Regions from separate parts of the Homo sapiens genome. Here region 1 is linked to region 2. Evidence: promoter capture Hi-C in 16 types of primary human blood cells and fetal thymus (Javierre and others, 2016). All regions are on one chromosome and are shown on one strand. Each heading gives the region's core, a stretch centred on a gene start or on the middle of the fragment in contact. The rest is flanking DNA. Distances are from core to core; before and after follow the strand shown.

Region 1 (6,862 bases), core at 2,855-5,354, 36 kb after region 2:
GATTTTTAATTTTTTTGTGGAGACGAGGTCTTGCTGTGTTGCCCAAGCTGGTCTTGAATTCCTGGGCTCAAGCAATCCTCCTGCCTCAGCTTCCCAAAGTACTGGGATTACATGTGTGAGCCACCACATCCAGCCAAGTCCCTACTCTTATGGAACTTAATTCTAGAGAATTTCAGTTTGTAATAAATGACCGGAGGGGAACATCACACACGGGGCCTCTCGGGGGGTGGGGGGCTGGGGGGCTAGGGGAGGGATAGCATTAGGAGAAATACCTAATGTAGATGACGGGTTGATGGGTGCAGCAAACCACCATGGCATGTGTATACCTATGTAACAAACCTGCACATTCCGTACATGTATCCCAGAACTTAAAGTATAATTTAAAAAAATAAATAAATGACAAATGAGATGAGCATAGGAAATGGAACAGAGGATCTGGAGAGTTTTGCTTTTTGTTTTTTTATCTTTATTTATTTTTATTTTTTTGAGATGGAGTTTTGCTCTTGTTGCCCAGGCTGGAGTGCAGTGGTGTGATCTTGGCTCACTGCAACCTCCGCCTCCCGGGTTCAAGCAATTCTCCTGCCTCAGTCTCCTGAGTAGCTGGGATTATAGGTGTGCACCACCACGCCCGGCTAATTTTTTGTATTTTTAGTAGAGACGAGGTTTCACCATATTGGCCAGGCTGGTCTTGATCTCCTGACCTTGTGATCCACCCACCTCCGCCTCCCAAGGTGCTAGGATTACAGGCATGAGCCACCACACCTGGCCTTGTTTTTTTCTTTCTAAGAGACAGGGTTGGGCCGGGCGCGGTGGCTCACGCCTGTAATCCCAGCACTTTGGGAGGCCAAGGCAGGCAGATCACGAGGTCAGGAGAACGAGATCATCCTGGCTAACACAATGAAACCCTGTCTCTACTAAAAATATAAAAAATTAGCCAGGTGTGGTGGTGGGCGCCTGTAGTCCCAGCTACTCGGGAGGCTGAGGCAGGAGAATGACGTGAACTCGGGAGGCAGAGCTTGCAGTGAGCTGAGAACATGCCACTGCACTCCAGCCTGGGGGACAGAGTGAGACTCTGTCTCAAAAAAAAAAAGGGAGAGAGAGAGACAGGGTCTTACTGTGTCACCCAAGCTGGAGTGCAGGTTTGATCATAGCTCACTGCAGTTGAACTCCTGGGCTCAAGCATTCCTCTGACCTCAGCTTCAAGTAGATGGGACTACAGGCCCACGCTACCACACCGGGCCCTAGCGTTCAAGCTCTTGTGTGAATATGTGTTTTCATTTCCTTTGGGTCTATACCTAGGAATGGACTTTGCTGAGTCATATGGTGACACTATGTTTAACCTTTTGAAGAGCTCCCAGACTGTTTTCAAAGTGGTTATACCATTTTAAATTCCCAACAGCGTTGTAGGAAGGTCTGAATTTCTCCACACCCTCACCAACACTTGTTAATATTTGTCTTCTAGATCATACTCACCCTAGTGATCTAGGGTGGTTTTGATTTGCATTTCCCTAGTGGCTAAAATGATGTTGAATATTTTTTCATATTCTTATTGAACATTTGCATATCTTCTTTGCAAAAATGTCTATTCAAGTCCTTTGCCAGTTCTTAAATTTGGTTATCTTTTTCATGTTGAGCTGTGAAAGTTTTTTTTTTTTTTTGAGATGAAGTTTCACTCTGTGGCACAGGCTAGAGTGCAGAGGCGTGATCACGGCTCACTGCAACCTCCACGTCCCAGGTTCAAATAATTTTCCTGCCTCAGCCTCCTGAGTAGCTGGGACTACAGGTGTCCCATGCCCGGCTAATTTTTGTATTTTTAGTAGAGGCGAGGTTTCTCCATGTTGGCCAGGCTGGTGTTGAACTCCTGGCCTCAAGTGATCCACCCGCCTTGGCCTCCCAAATTCCTGGAATTACAGGCGTAAGCACTGCGTCTGGCCAGTTTATGTTTTTTTGAGACAGGATTTCTCTCTGTTGCCCAGGCTGGAGTACAGTGGTACTATTATGGCTAACTGCAGCCTTGACCTCCCAGACTCAAGTGATCCTTTCACTTCAGCCTCCTGAGTAGCTAGGACTACAAGCACACACCACCACATCCAGCTAATATTTTATTTTTTTATTTTTTGTACAGATGGGGTCTCGCTGTATTGACCAGGCTGGTCTTAAACTCCTGGGCTCCAGTGATTCTCCCAGCTTGTCTTCCCAAAGTGTTGGGATTCCAGACGTGAGCCACCATGCCTGGTGCTTATCTGATATTTAATTTGCAAATGTTTTCTCCCTTTCTGCGAGTTATCTTTTTACTCTCTTGATAGTGGTTTGTGGTTTTGTTGTTGTTGTTGTTGTTGTTTGTATTTTTAGTAGTGTTGGCCAGGATGGTCTTGGTCTCTTGACCTTGTGATCCGCCCGCCTCGGCCTCCCAAAGTGCTGGGATTACAGGTGTGAGCCACTGTGCCCGGCCTGTTTTCTTTTTTTTATTTATTTTTATTTATTTTATTTTTTTTGAGAGATGGAGTCTTGGTTTGTTGCCCAGGCTGGAGTGCAGTGGCCTGATCATAGCTCACTGTAACCTTGAAGTCCTGGGCTCAAGAAGCCTTCCTGCCTCAGCCTCCCTGACACCTCAGACTACAGGTACATGCTATCTTGCCGCATTCATGATAGTGTAATTTGATGCAGAAAAGTTTTTCGTTTTGATGAAGTCCAATTTATCTACTTTTTTCTTTTGTCGCGTGTGCTTTTGTTGTCGTATCTAAGATACTTTTGCTTAATCTGAGGTTGGGAAGATTTATACCCTTGTTTTAAGAGTTTTATAATTTCAGCTTTTACATTTAGGTTTTTGATGTATTTGATGTATTTGTAGTTAATTTTTATGTATAGTGTGATCTAGGGGTTAATCCACTTTCTTTTGCATGTGGATATCCAATTATCCCAGCATCATTTGTTGAAAGATTATTCTTTCCTCGTTGAATTGTAAAACTAGGGGACTACCTGATATTAGCCAAATTTCAAAGTTTGAAGCTAGTAATTGAGTTCAGAGGGCACACTGCCCTCCTAAAGACCACCTTCACTTCTGAAACCACCTGCAGTTTCAGAGTGTCGCAAAACCGTCTTCAGATTTGCTAATTCACTAGAACTCACTGAAAGTTGTTATAGTCATGGTTATAGTTTATTATAGGGAACATATAGATTAAAAGCAGCTAAAGGAAGAGACAAATAGGGCAGAGTTGGCCGGGTGTGGTGGCTCACGCCTGTAATCCCAGCCCTTTCGGAGGCCAAGGTGGGTGGATCACGAGGTCGGGAATTTAAGACCATTCTGGCCAACATCGTGAAACCCCATCGCTACTAAAAATACAAAAATTAGCTGTGTGTGGCGGTGCGTGCCTGTAATCCCAGTTACTTGGAGGATGAGGTGGGAGAATTGCTTGAACCTGGGAGGGGGAAGTTGCAGTGAGCCGAGATTGTACCACTGCACTCCAGCCTGGTGACAGAGCTAGACTCCGTCTCAAAAAAAGAAAAAAAAAGAAAAAAAGGGGGCAGAGTCTAAAAGGATTTTGGACATGAAGCTTGCATACTACGCTCCTGCAGAGTCGGGACACATTACCTTCTTGGCATAGATGTATAACAATATGCATGAAGTATAGTAGCCCCCTCCACCCACAGTTTCACATTCTGTGGTTTCAGTTACTAGTAGGCAACTGTGGTTTGAAAATATTAAGTGGAAGATTCCAGAAATAAACAATTCATAAGTTTTAAAATGCATGCTGTTCTGAGAAACATGATGAAATCTCACTCTGTCCCATTCTACCTTACCCGGAACGTGAATTATCCATTTGTCCAGCGTCTCCATACTGTATACAAGACCCACCTGTTAGTCAGTTAGTAGCCGTTATCAGATCAACTGTTGTGCCATTACAGTACTTTTGTTCAGGTTCCCCTATTTTACTTAATATTGGCCCCAAAGCACAGGAGTAGTGATGCTGGCAACTCAGCTATGCTAGAGAGAAGCCAGGAAATGTGTCCTTTAAGTGAAAAGGTTAAAGTTCCTGGCCAGCAGTGGCTCATGCCTGTAATCCCAGCACTTTGGGAGGCCGAGGCAGGTAGATCATGAGGTGAGGAGTTCAAGACCAGCCTGGCCAAGATGGTGAAACCCCGTCTCTACTAAAAATACAAAAATTAGCTGGGCACAGTGGCAGGAGCCTGTAATCCCAGCTACTCGGGAGGCTGAGGCAGGAGAATCGCTTGAACCTGGGGGCGCGGAGGTTGCAGTGAGCTGAGATCATGCCACTGCACTCCAGCCTGGGCAACAGAATAAGACTCCATCTCAAGAAAAAAAAAAAAAAAGGTTAAAGTTCCTGACTTAATGAGGAAATAAAAAAATTATATGCTGAAGTTGCTAAGATCTAGCTTGTGTTTGTGAAATTGTGAAGAAAGAAAAAGAAATTCATAGTAGTTTTATGGTCACACTTCTGCAAAAATTGCAGCCACAGTGCATGATAAGTGCATAGTTAAGATGGAAAAGGCATTTTTTGAGTGGAAGACATGAAGAGAAATAGCTTCCAATGACAGCATTCAAGTTCGGTACTATACATGGTTTCAGGAATCTACTAGAGGTCTTGGAACATATCCCTGTGGATAAGAAGGGACTACTGTATTGCCAACCAGGGAAGCTTCAGTGCTTCCAGAGAATTTATTAGGGCATCATTACATAGGCACGATTGATTTGTTTGGCTGCCCACATGGTTGAACTCAGTCTTCAAGTCAACTGATACCAAGTTGTCCAAAGTTCCCCACCCTAAACCACATGGTTGGTCTTTCTGGCATGGCCGGCTTTCACCCTAAGACTACTGGGTGTTGCAGCTGCAACCTAAAATCTAGTAACAAAGACATGCTTATCAGGTCTGACATAGATTACCTCCCAAAAGGGAAAGATCAGACATCTCTTTGGGTAAGGTCAACTTTTTTTTACTACATTGAGACAAATATCTATTTCAAGGACAGAGTTAAGGAGGGAATGAATTTTTTAAACTGAATATCAGTAGTCTGACAGGAGTTGTATTAGGATCTTTATGTGTGGCCAACTCATTAAATTTTCAGATTAACTCAGAAATATTGTTCCTTTATTTTGCACATGAGGAAACTGAGGCTCATATGTTTTTTTCTTCTTTATTTTTTATTTTTAGAGACAGGGTCTCGTTTCATTGCCCTGGCTGGTCTCGAATTTCTGGTCTCTGGGCTCAAGCAATCCTCTCACCTCAGCCTCCCAAAGTGTTAGGATTACAGGTTTGAGCCACCGCGCCTGACCTGAGGCTCATACATTGAGCAACTTTTCAGAGAGATGGAGCTTGGATCAGACCGAAGTTTCTCTGCTGCAAGCCCCTTCATCAGATGCCACTCATCAGGACTGCTTCACTGCATAACTCCAGGGGTACTGCCTACATTGTATTCTCTGAGGATGGCTTTTCTTGGGATTGTACAGTGAAGCACTTTATATCCCAGCCACCCTAAATAATACATGCCATCTGAATCCAGGCAGTACGCTTGCTGCATAAATGTAGCTTCCAGACAAGTTTCCTCGTCTCCTCTACCATGGATGCATTCTGGAGTGACAACTCCAGTTGCCTCCAAGTACAGCCGGTTAACAGGCCCATGAAGGTGCACTCCTCAGTGACCTTTTGGTGTATTCATGACCATCCTGTTTTGGAATACCACGCAATAGTTGCCTCACCTCTTGTTGTTGGTTGATTTGAGCATCGCTGAAACTCTTGCCACTCCGTTTTCCTTCTCAGGCTGCTGTACAGGACAGATTGAATGAGCAAGAGGGCGTACCTAGTGTTTTCAACCCACCTCCATCACGACCCCTGCAGGTTAATACAGCTGACCACAGGATCTACAGCTATGTTGTCTCAAGACCTCAACCAAGGGCAAGTTATTTCATAGCTGGGATTTCCCCCTTTTTTATTTATAAGTATATCCACTTGGTTATATTGATCTCCCTGTGACAGGAGCAAAACAAATATTTAGAATGTAAACCTGTTAGTTAGACTTGGCCCGTTGGGTGTATTATTTTGCCTTGATTCCTCAAGGAATTGTTACAGAAACTACTCATTTTTTTTTTCTTTTCTTTGCCAGTTATTTGGAGAGTGTTTTCTGCCTCTTAAGTTACAATTTGTTTACTCAAGTTCTTTGTTGCTTCAGTTTACTTAATCTTAAACCAGTTTTGAGGAAGTATATGGAATCTTTGTAGGAGCTTTGGCCACGTCTTTGAAATTAGCCTTGAAGGGCTAGTAGCAAGGAGGTGGTTCACTTAAATTTGACAGACATTTAAGAGTACTCCAATAACCTGGTATCTTGCTACTAGGGATCCAGACATGAATAAAGAGCCAGTCTTCCCATTTCAAATTCAATTTCTCACAGTCTATTGAAGGAAGTCAGATGTGTACACTGATAATGAATTCTAAAGAACTGCTTGGACTTTCTTTTTCTTACCCCTGGGGTTATACTCACCTCTTATACTTTTATACTTGCATTTAGAATCCTAAGAAAACACTCCCTTTAACATTGCAGCAGTTAGAATTTACTCCATCATCAAGCCTTTTTGTGGAGTACTTGATTTTTGTTGTGTTTTGTTCTGTTTGAGACAGGGTCTCACTCTGTCGCCCAGCCTGGAGTGCAGTGGCATGATCTTGGCTCGCTGCAGCCTAGACCTCCCGGGCTCAAGCAGTCCTCCACCTCAGCCTCCTAAGTAGCTGGGACTACAGGTGTGCGCCACCATCCTGGTTAATTTTTGTATTTTTTGTAGAGATGGGGTCTTGCTATGTTGCCCAGGCTGGTCTTGAACTCCTGAGCTCAAGTTATCTGCCCACCTCAGCCT
Region 2 (7,164 bases), core at 746-3,245:
CCACCATGCCTGCTGGCAAGTATATATCTTAAGTGAGAATTACACAATTCCTGAGGACATCTGACTTTGCCAACCCTCATTTAGTTTATCTGAACCCAACGTTATTGGTGAGATTGAACAACACTGAGTTTCCTTTGAGCTTTGAGCTGCTGTAATAAATTCTCTATAGAGTAGCAGCTATCTGCTTCCGATTTTACCTTCGGGGGTTTTTACTTAATTGACATATTATTTATTTATTTATTTATTTTTGAGACGGAGTCTCACTCCGTCGCCCAGGCTGGAGTACAGTGGGGCAATCTCAGTTCACTGCAACCTCCGCCTCCCAGATTCAAGCGATTCTCCTGCCTCAGCCTCCCGAGTAGCTAGGACTACAGGCGTGCGCCACCAACCCTGGCTAATTTTTGTATTTTTAGTAGAGACAGGGTTTCGCCATGTTGGCCAGGCCAGTTTCGAACTCCTGACCTCAAGTGATCCGCCCGCCTCGGCCACCCAAAGCGCTGGGATTACAGGCGTGAGCCACAGAGCCCGGCCGACACCATTTTTAAACGGAAAGATTTCATATGCAGATCCAAATTTGCAGGGTTTTTGTTTTGTTTTGTTTTGTTTTTCCAATTAGCACTTTTTGGGGGTTGTGTTTTAGGGCGTACCATGTGCTGTTTTTCCAGGACGTCGTGGTTTGTGCAGACCTGGTAAGACCTGATAAGTCCTGAAAGAAGTAGCCAAAATTTCATGTACTCTTCACAGAACCAGCTCTCAAAGCCTTTTCTGTCTCACCGGATCAACCCTGCAAGGGGACGAGGGTGGGGCGCAGGCGGCCGAGAGCCTTGCTGAGAATCACACAGGTGGTCAGTGGAAAAGCGTGTACCAGACCCAGGCCTCTCTGGAAGGTGGGCAGAGGAGGCGTTCGGCGGGAGAGGTGGAAATGAAAACGGGAAATCTAAAGAGAGGTGGCGGACTAGAAGGGGCAAGGGACGTGCAGAGGAAGATAGAGATTGAGGGGTGGTGATAGGGTAGTGTAAGCAGCAGAAGGGAAGGGCAGGGGACTGCCTCGAGGAGAAGGGGCGGCGGCAGCACGTCAGGGGCTTTTGGGGAATCTCATTCAACAAATGGCAAAATGGAGCCCAAGTGGTTTGCCCAAGGATGTCCAGCAGTTGGCAAGGTGGCAACTAGAACCCGCGTCTCCTAATCCCGGTCCAGGGATCTTTCTTCGCCTGTCACAGAGACAAGGGGCCAGTGCAGCGCTAGTGCGGAGAGACAAGGCTCCAGGCACGGAAAAGCAGATGCCGGGCCGGGGTTCCAGCGCCGCAGTCACGGCGGTGGACGGCAAGCTGTGCGGACGACTGGGGGCGCCATGAATGGTCGAGGATCCGGGGAGCCGAGTCCAGATCTTCCTGCAAGTGACCCCGAAGCGGCAATGGAACGGTGGCCGAAGTCTGCCCACAGCTTCCGCTTCGAAGGCGGCGTCGGAAATGCCGCGCCAGTATCCAGAGCCCTTCGGAACCTCCCGAGAGATGGTCAGGAGCTTTTGGAAACTTTAGGTCAGGGGCCAGCGACCAAAAGGCTGGTATTTCGGAACGGCTGCGTCTCCCGAGAAACCTCCAAGAGTATCTGAGGTTGCCGGAAAATGGTTAGAGAGCAGCCGAAATCAGCCGAATGCCATTCGGGATGCTCCGGAGCTTCTCGAGGCACATTCGGGCCCTCTCGGCTCTGCAAGACTGCACTGGAATCTTAGGTCTCCTTTCGTCGCCTAATCTTAGCAGATCCTTTCGTCGCCTAAATGGTAAGAGCGACTTGTACCGACAGTCCCTCGGCAATTTCCGGAAGTGTTCGGGATAGGCCCGAGCGTGGCGCCCTCTGGCGGCGGCCAGAGGTGGCGGGGGGCGGGGGGAGGTTAGTGGGCCAGCGCGCGCAGACGCAGTTGCGCGCCGGCGGCCGTTCAGACCGGATGTGGTTGTGGCTGAGGTCAGTTCCGGCGGGTGACGGTGCGGACGGGTCAGGAGCGTAGAGGCGGCGGCAAAATGGCGGCGCCTGAGGAGCGGGATCTAACCCAGGAGCAGACAGAGAAGCTGCTGCAGTTTCAGGTAGCAGCGAGTACTCGGTGCAGCAGATGCCTCCGTGGGATGGGGAGTAGGCCCCTAGAGGAGTTCAGAACCCTCCTCAGATTGGGTTCAGATCCTTCTCAGACCAGCAGGCCGGCCCCCTCCCCCCCAGACTCCAACTGCCCTGATTCCCCCGGCCCCCAAGCCTCTGTTGGACCCTAGCCTTCCAGCCATCGCTGCGGGCAGACCCGCCTCGTCTGTGCCTCTGTGCCCTCAGCGTGTCAGCTTCCCTGGTTTGCCTTAGCGGCGTCAGTCCTCAGCCATCCTTCCCAGCCCGGTTATCGGTCGGACCCTCTCCGCCCAACGAGTCTATATCTGCCGGAGAAGCTTAGTCCCCACCGCGGAGTTGGCGTCATTTCGGGTCTCTGACAGGAAAACCTCCTGCCAGCATCCCATGCCATTTCCACATACACTCCCACAAACTGGGGCCTCTTGGATACCAGGTTTCGTGTTGGGGGTTCCGGTCGGGGAGGGGGCACCTACACACAGATCTGGTCCCCGCCCTAGAGGTGTGGGAGGACACCAAGTGAGGAAACAATGCAAGATGATAAGTGTCATCAGTGGTCTGTCGGGATTTATTACTTTTGGCTTATTCCTGGATTCCTGTGCTTAACTATGCTTGAGGAGGGTGGTAACTTGCAGAAATGTTATGTTAATACAAGATGTTGTATTAAGAACATTTGCCACTGATCACTTACCCCTGAGCTGGAGAATGGTTGGAGGATACCACTAGGGTGGGTAACCTTGGCACTTTGTTACCAGTTTCCTTATCTCTGAAAGGACTGTCTTAAAAATGTCTACCCCCAGGCCAGGAGCGGTGGCTCACGCCTGTAATCCCAGCACTTTGGGAGGCCAAGGCCAGCGAATCACGAGGTCAGGAGTTCGAGACCACTCTGGCCAATATGGTGAAACCCCGTCTCTACTAAAAATACAAATATTAGCCGGGCGTGGTGGTGCACGCCTGTGGTCCCAGCTACTCGGGAGGCTAAGGCAGGAGACTCGCTTGAACCCGGGAGGCGGAGGTTGCAGTGAGCCGAGATCGTGCCACTGCACTCCAGCCTGGGCAACAAGAGTGAAACTCCGTCTCAAAAAAAAAAAAATCTACCTCCTGAGGATGTTCGGGAGATCAAATGGACATATGGATGTTAGAAGGGCCTTGTAGACTGCAAAATGCCCCCAAATAGTATTTTCTGCTATTAATTTGACTTAGGATAGACCTAAAGTTATTGATACACTTATTTCCTTATATAAAATGTGTAAATATTCATTTATTCAACTATATGAAGAACCTTAGTGCGCAGCGCTGCTAGGTAGAATCCCACTTACTATTTCAGATGTAAGTACTTTGTAAACACTTAGCATACATAACCTCATTTAATACAGCAACCCTATGAGGTTCATACTGTTCTAGTCCCTGATTTACAGATGAAGGGTATCAGGACTAAGAAATAAAATGCTTAGGTTACACAGCTAGAAAATGATGGTGTCAGATTTAAAGCTATGTCCATCTTCCAGAACCCTTCCCAGGCTTCTGACTTCTGTCTTGTGCAACTTATATTTCAGTGTACAGTTGAGTGTGGAATGCAAATGCTGAGAAAATAAATATTTTTTTGGCGAGTTCTCACTTTTTTGCAATTTCCTTGAATAGACTTCACTATAATAAATTTTGAAGTGGTTATTTTTTCCCCTCTTAAATTGAGCAGTGTGTTGGAAGTGTATAAATGGAAAAATGCTGTCATAGATGTAATTGACATTTGATTGGAATTTTTGGTAGAGAAATTGAATTGATGACCCAGCAAATTATTATTAGAGAATGAGTTAAACAGACAACCAGCTTACACTTCCAGGTAGACCACCAATTTCAGAGTGTTGTTTAACTTTGGCAGACCATTTTACCCCTTAGAACTCTTCAGGGGTAAGCTAACATGTGGTTTAAGTGCAATGAAGTAATGTGAGTTATAAATTATGGTATATTTAGTCTCATACTGGAAGAGCATGAATATAAATCTATGATAGCATTTCTGAAGTAAAGTGCATAGGAACCTCCATTTTATCTTCTGTGGAGATCTTTTTTTTTTTTTTGAGACGGAGTTTCGCTCTTGTTGCCCAGGCTGGAGTGCAGTGGCGCGATCTCGGCTCACTGCAACCTCCGCCTTCCAGTTTCAAGCGATTCTCCTGCCTCAGCCTCTCGAGTAGCTGGGACTACAGGCACGCGCCACCACATCCAGCGAATTTTTTGTATTTTTAGTAGAGACGGGGTTTCACGATGTTGGCCAGGATGGTCTCGATTTCTTGACCTCGTGATCCGCCCTCCTCGGCTGGGATTACAGGCGTGAGCCGCCGCGCCCGGCCAAAACTGTGGAGATCTTTATTAGAAGAGAGGTGGGTAGCAGGTTCGAGCTGTATTAAGATTGCCTTATGAAATTGGATTTATTGAGGGAAATGCATCTTTCATTTTTCTATTCTATAAGCAATCGCTGGATCAGATTCATTATCCAGACTGCCATTAAACAAACAGTTGTTGAAACTTATTAGATGCCAAGCATTATACCAAGCAGCAGTTGATGTACATTAACTCTTTTTTTAAGAAAAATATTTTAGACCATGTGTGGTGGCTCATGCTTGTAATCCCAGCACTTTGGGAGGCCGAGGCAGGTGGATCACCTGAGATCAGGAGTTCGAGACCAGCCTGGCCAACATGGCAAAACCTCGTCTCTACTAAAAATACAAAAATTAGCCAGGCATGGTGGCATGTGCCTGTAATCCCAGCTACTAGGGGGGCTGAGGCAGGAGGCTCACTTGAACCCGGGAGGTGGAGGTTGCAGTGAGCCAAGATCGTGCCACTGCACTCCAGCCTGGGCAACAGAGCGGGACTCTGTCTCAAAAAAAAAATTTTTTTTTAAGTAGAGACGGGAGTCTTGCTATGTTGTCCAGGCTGCTCTCAAACTGCTGCCTCAGAGGTTGAGATTACAGTGTTGAGATGAGTTGCCTCAGTGTTGAGATTACAGATGTGAGCCACCACACCTGGCCCCTTAACTCTTTTAAACCTTTTAATATAACAGTGTAAAGGGTTAATCTTGTTCATTTTAATAATGAAGAAACAGGTTCTGAGAGGTCAAATAGCTTTCACAAGTAGTAAGTGGTAGAGATTTAGAAATTTATATCCACAACCATCTTCTGTGTAACTTAATGGAGAAGTCAAGTACACACATGAATAATGGGTATGCGATATATATAGATATATATATATGTGTATATATGTATATTGTATATATACATATATATACGTGTGTGTGTGTATATATATATACATATATATATACACACATATATATATATACATATATATATATACACACATATATATACACATATATATATACACACATATATATATATATATATTTTTTTTTTTTTTTTTTTTTTTTTTTTTGAGACAACATATCTCTGTTGCCCAGGCTGAAGTGCAGTGGCGTGATCATAGTTCATTGCAACCTCAAACTCCTGGGCTCAAGTGATCCTCCCACCTCAGCCTCCTAAGTGGCTAGGACTAGAAGTGCCTGGCTAATTTTTGTCTGTTTGTTTTTGAGACGGAGGCTTGCTCTGTTGCCCTGGCTGGGGTGCAGTGGTGCGATCTCGGCTCACTGCAGCCTCTGCCTCCCAGGTTTAAGCTATTCTCTTGCCTCAGCCTCCTGAGTAGCTGGGATTACAAGTGCCTGCCACCATGCCTGGCTAATTTTTGTATTTTTAGTACAGACAAGGTTTCCCCGTGTTGGCCAGGCTGGTCTCGAACTCCTGACCTCAGGTGATCCACCTGCCTCGGCCTCCCAAAGTGCTCGGATTACAGGCGTGAGCCACCGGACCTGGCCAGCAGGTAACATTTATTAAGTATCTACTATGCCTTAGGCATGGTGTTAATGTATAACTATTATGTTTAATCCTTACAGCAGTTTACAAAGTACCATAGGTGGTATGCATAATGAAGCAGATCTATTGATGTATTTACTCAAGGTGATTAAGCTACTAGGTAGTGGAATTCTAGTGGGTCTAGATCTGGACTTGATGGCTGAGTTCTTACTAATATACCTTGCTACTTTGGAAGAGGAATAGAGTTTCAACATGTGTTGGGCAGAATATTCAAAGCTAAAGAAATAGCTTGCACAAGGTAGGGAGATGGGAAAGTGAAGTGTCTGTGGTGATGAACTGAAGAGTATTGAAAGTGGACAATAAGACTAGAAAGGTAAATTAAAGCCAGATTTTGGAGGCCTTTCAAAGCTGTTCACAATGTTTAAACTTTAATCTGTAGATGAGGGGAGCCATCAAAGGATTTTTCAACTAGGGAGTGACACTAGGTTTCAGGTTTGCTTCATTAGCAGTATGGAGTATGTGTTTGGAATCTCCACAGGGGTCAGTACAGAACAGGATGACACTGCTAGGAGTTGGTTCTCAATATGTTTCTTCATTTGGTATATTGAAATCAGTAAAAGTAAAATATTTTGGAAATCTCAGGTTTCCTGTATTTCAATTTTTTTATGATGTTATTTGGTTAGAACTCCCCAAGGCATTTTATTTCATATCATGTTTCTCAGCCCATTTGATATCTTCCAGGATTTTTCTACAGTTCTCCACTTCTGTTTATTTTGGAACCAGTTGAATATGAATAACTATTGCAGACAATTGTTTTCAGCTATTTCAGATGGGAAAGAATAAGGACATAGGTTTTAAGGAGAGCTAATGCAGGTATGTGGAAGGTTACTTTTATTGGCGTTCATTTTCCCAAATTTCCAAATATAGCAGACTCTCCTAGTGTCTTGGTTTACTGCCTCTAGGTTGCTGTTTGAACAACTGGAGAAGGATGACATGGACAGAGAGAAGGGGGAATTAAAGGAGTTATGCAGGCCAGCAGAGGAAGAAATGATCCCTTTTCTGCTTGCACAGGAGGAAGAAATTTATGACCCTCATCCTTTTAAATGATAGCCTGAACGCTGGGCTGTAGAATCAAATTTATAAGTCATTTTGAAAATCTTTCTTTTGGCTTCACCTGACTATATTACCTAAAGGAAAA

Evidence for each region. The method cuts DNA at HindIII sites, captures the fragments that hold promoters and counts their contacts. A CHiCAGO score of 5 or more calls a contact.
Region 1: a fragment that was not itself captured here is called in contact with the fragment with the promoter of FAF2 in region 2 in 1 of 17 cell types (endothelial precursors); the score reaches 5.1 in endothelial precursors.

Annotation. Positions count from the first base shown.
Region 1 is chr5:176,480,578-176,487,439 of GRCh38, forward strand. It overlaps FAF2 (Fas associated factor family member 2), which reads left to right. Exons shown (of 11, transcript NM_014613.3): 3 at 5,778-5,912. Among named protein-coding and RNA genes, the nearest start is that of FAF2, 36 kb to the left of the region's middle. The HindIII fragment of the contact is 1,104 bases long and covers 3,553-4,656 here.
Region 2 is chr5:176,446,390-176,453,553 of GRCh38, forward strand. It overlaps FAF2 (Fas associated factor family member 2), which reads left to right and starts at 1,996. Exons shown (of 11, transcript NM_014613.3): 1 at 1,996-2,081. The coding sequence starts at 2,019. It overlaps LOC124901142 (a long non-coding RNA gene), which reads left to right and starts at 5,926. Exons shown (of 2, transcript XR_007059070.1): 1 at 5,926-6,839; 2 at 6,929-7,164. RefSeq lists enhancers at 1,377-1,566, 1,647-1,706, 2,017-2,076 and a silencer at 1,887-1,936. The HindIII fragment of the contact is 11,476 bases long and covers 1-2,424 here.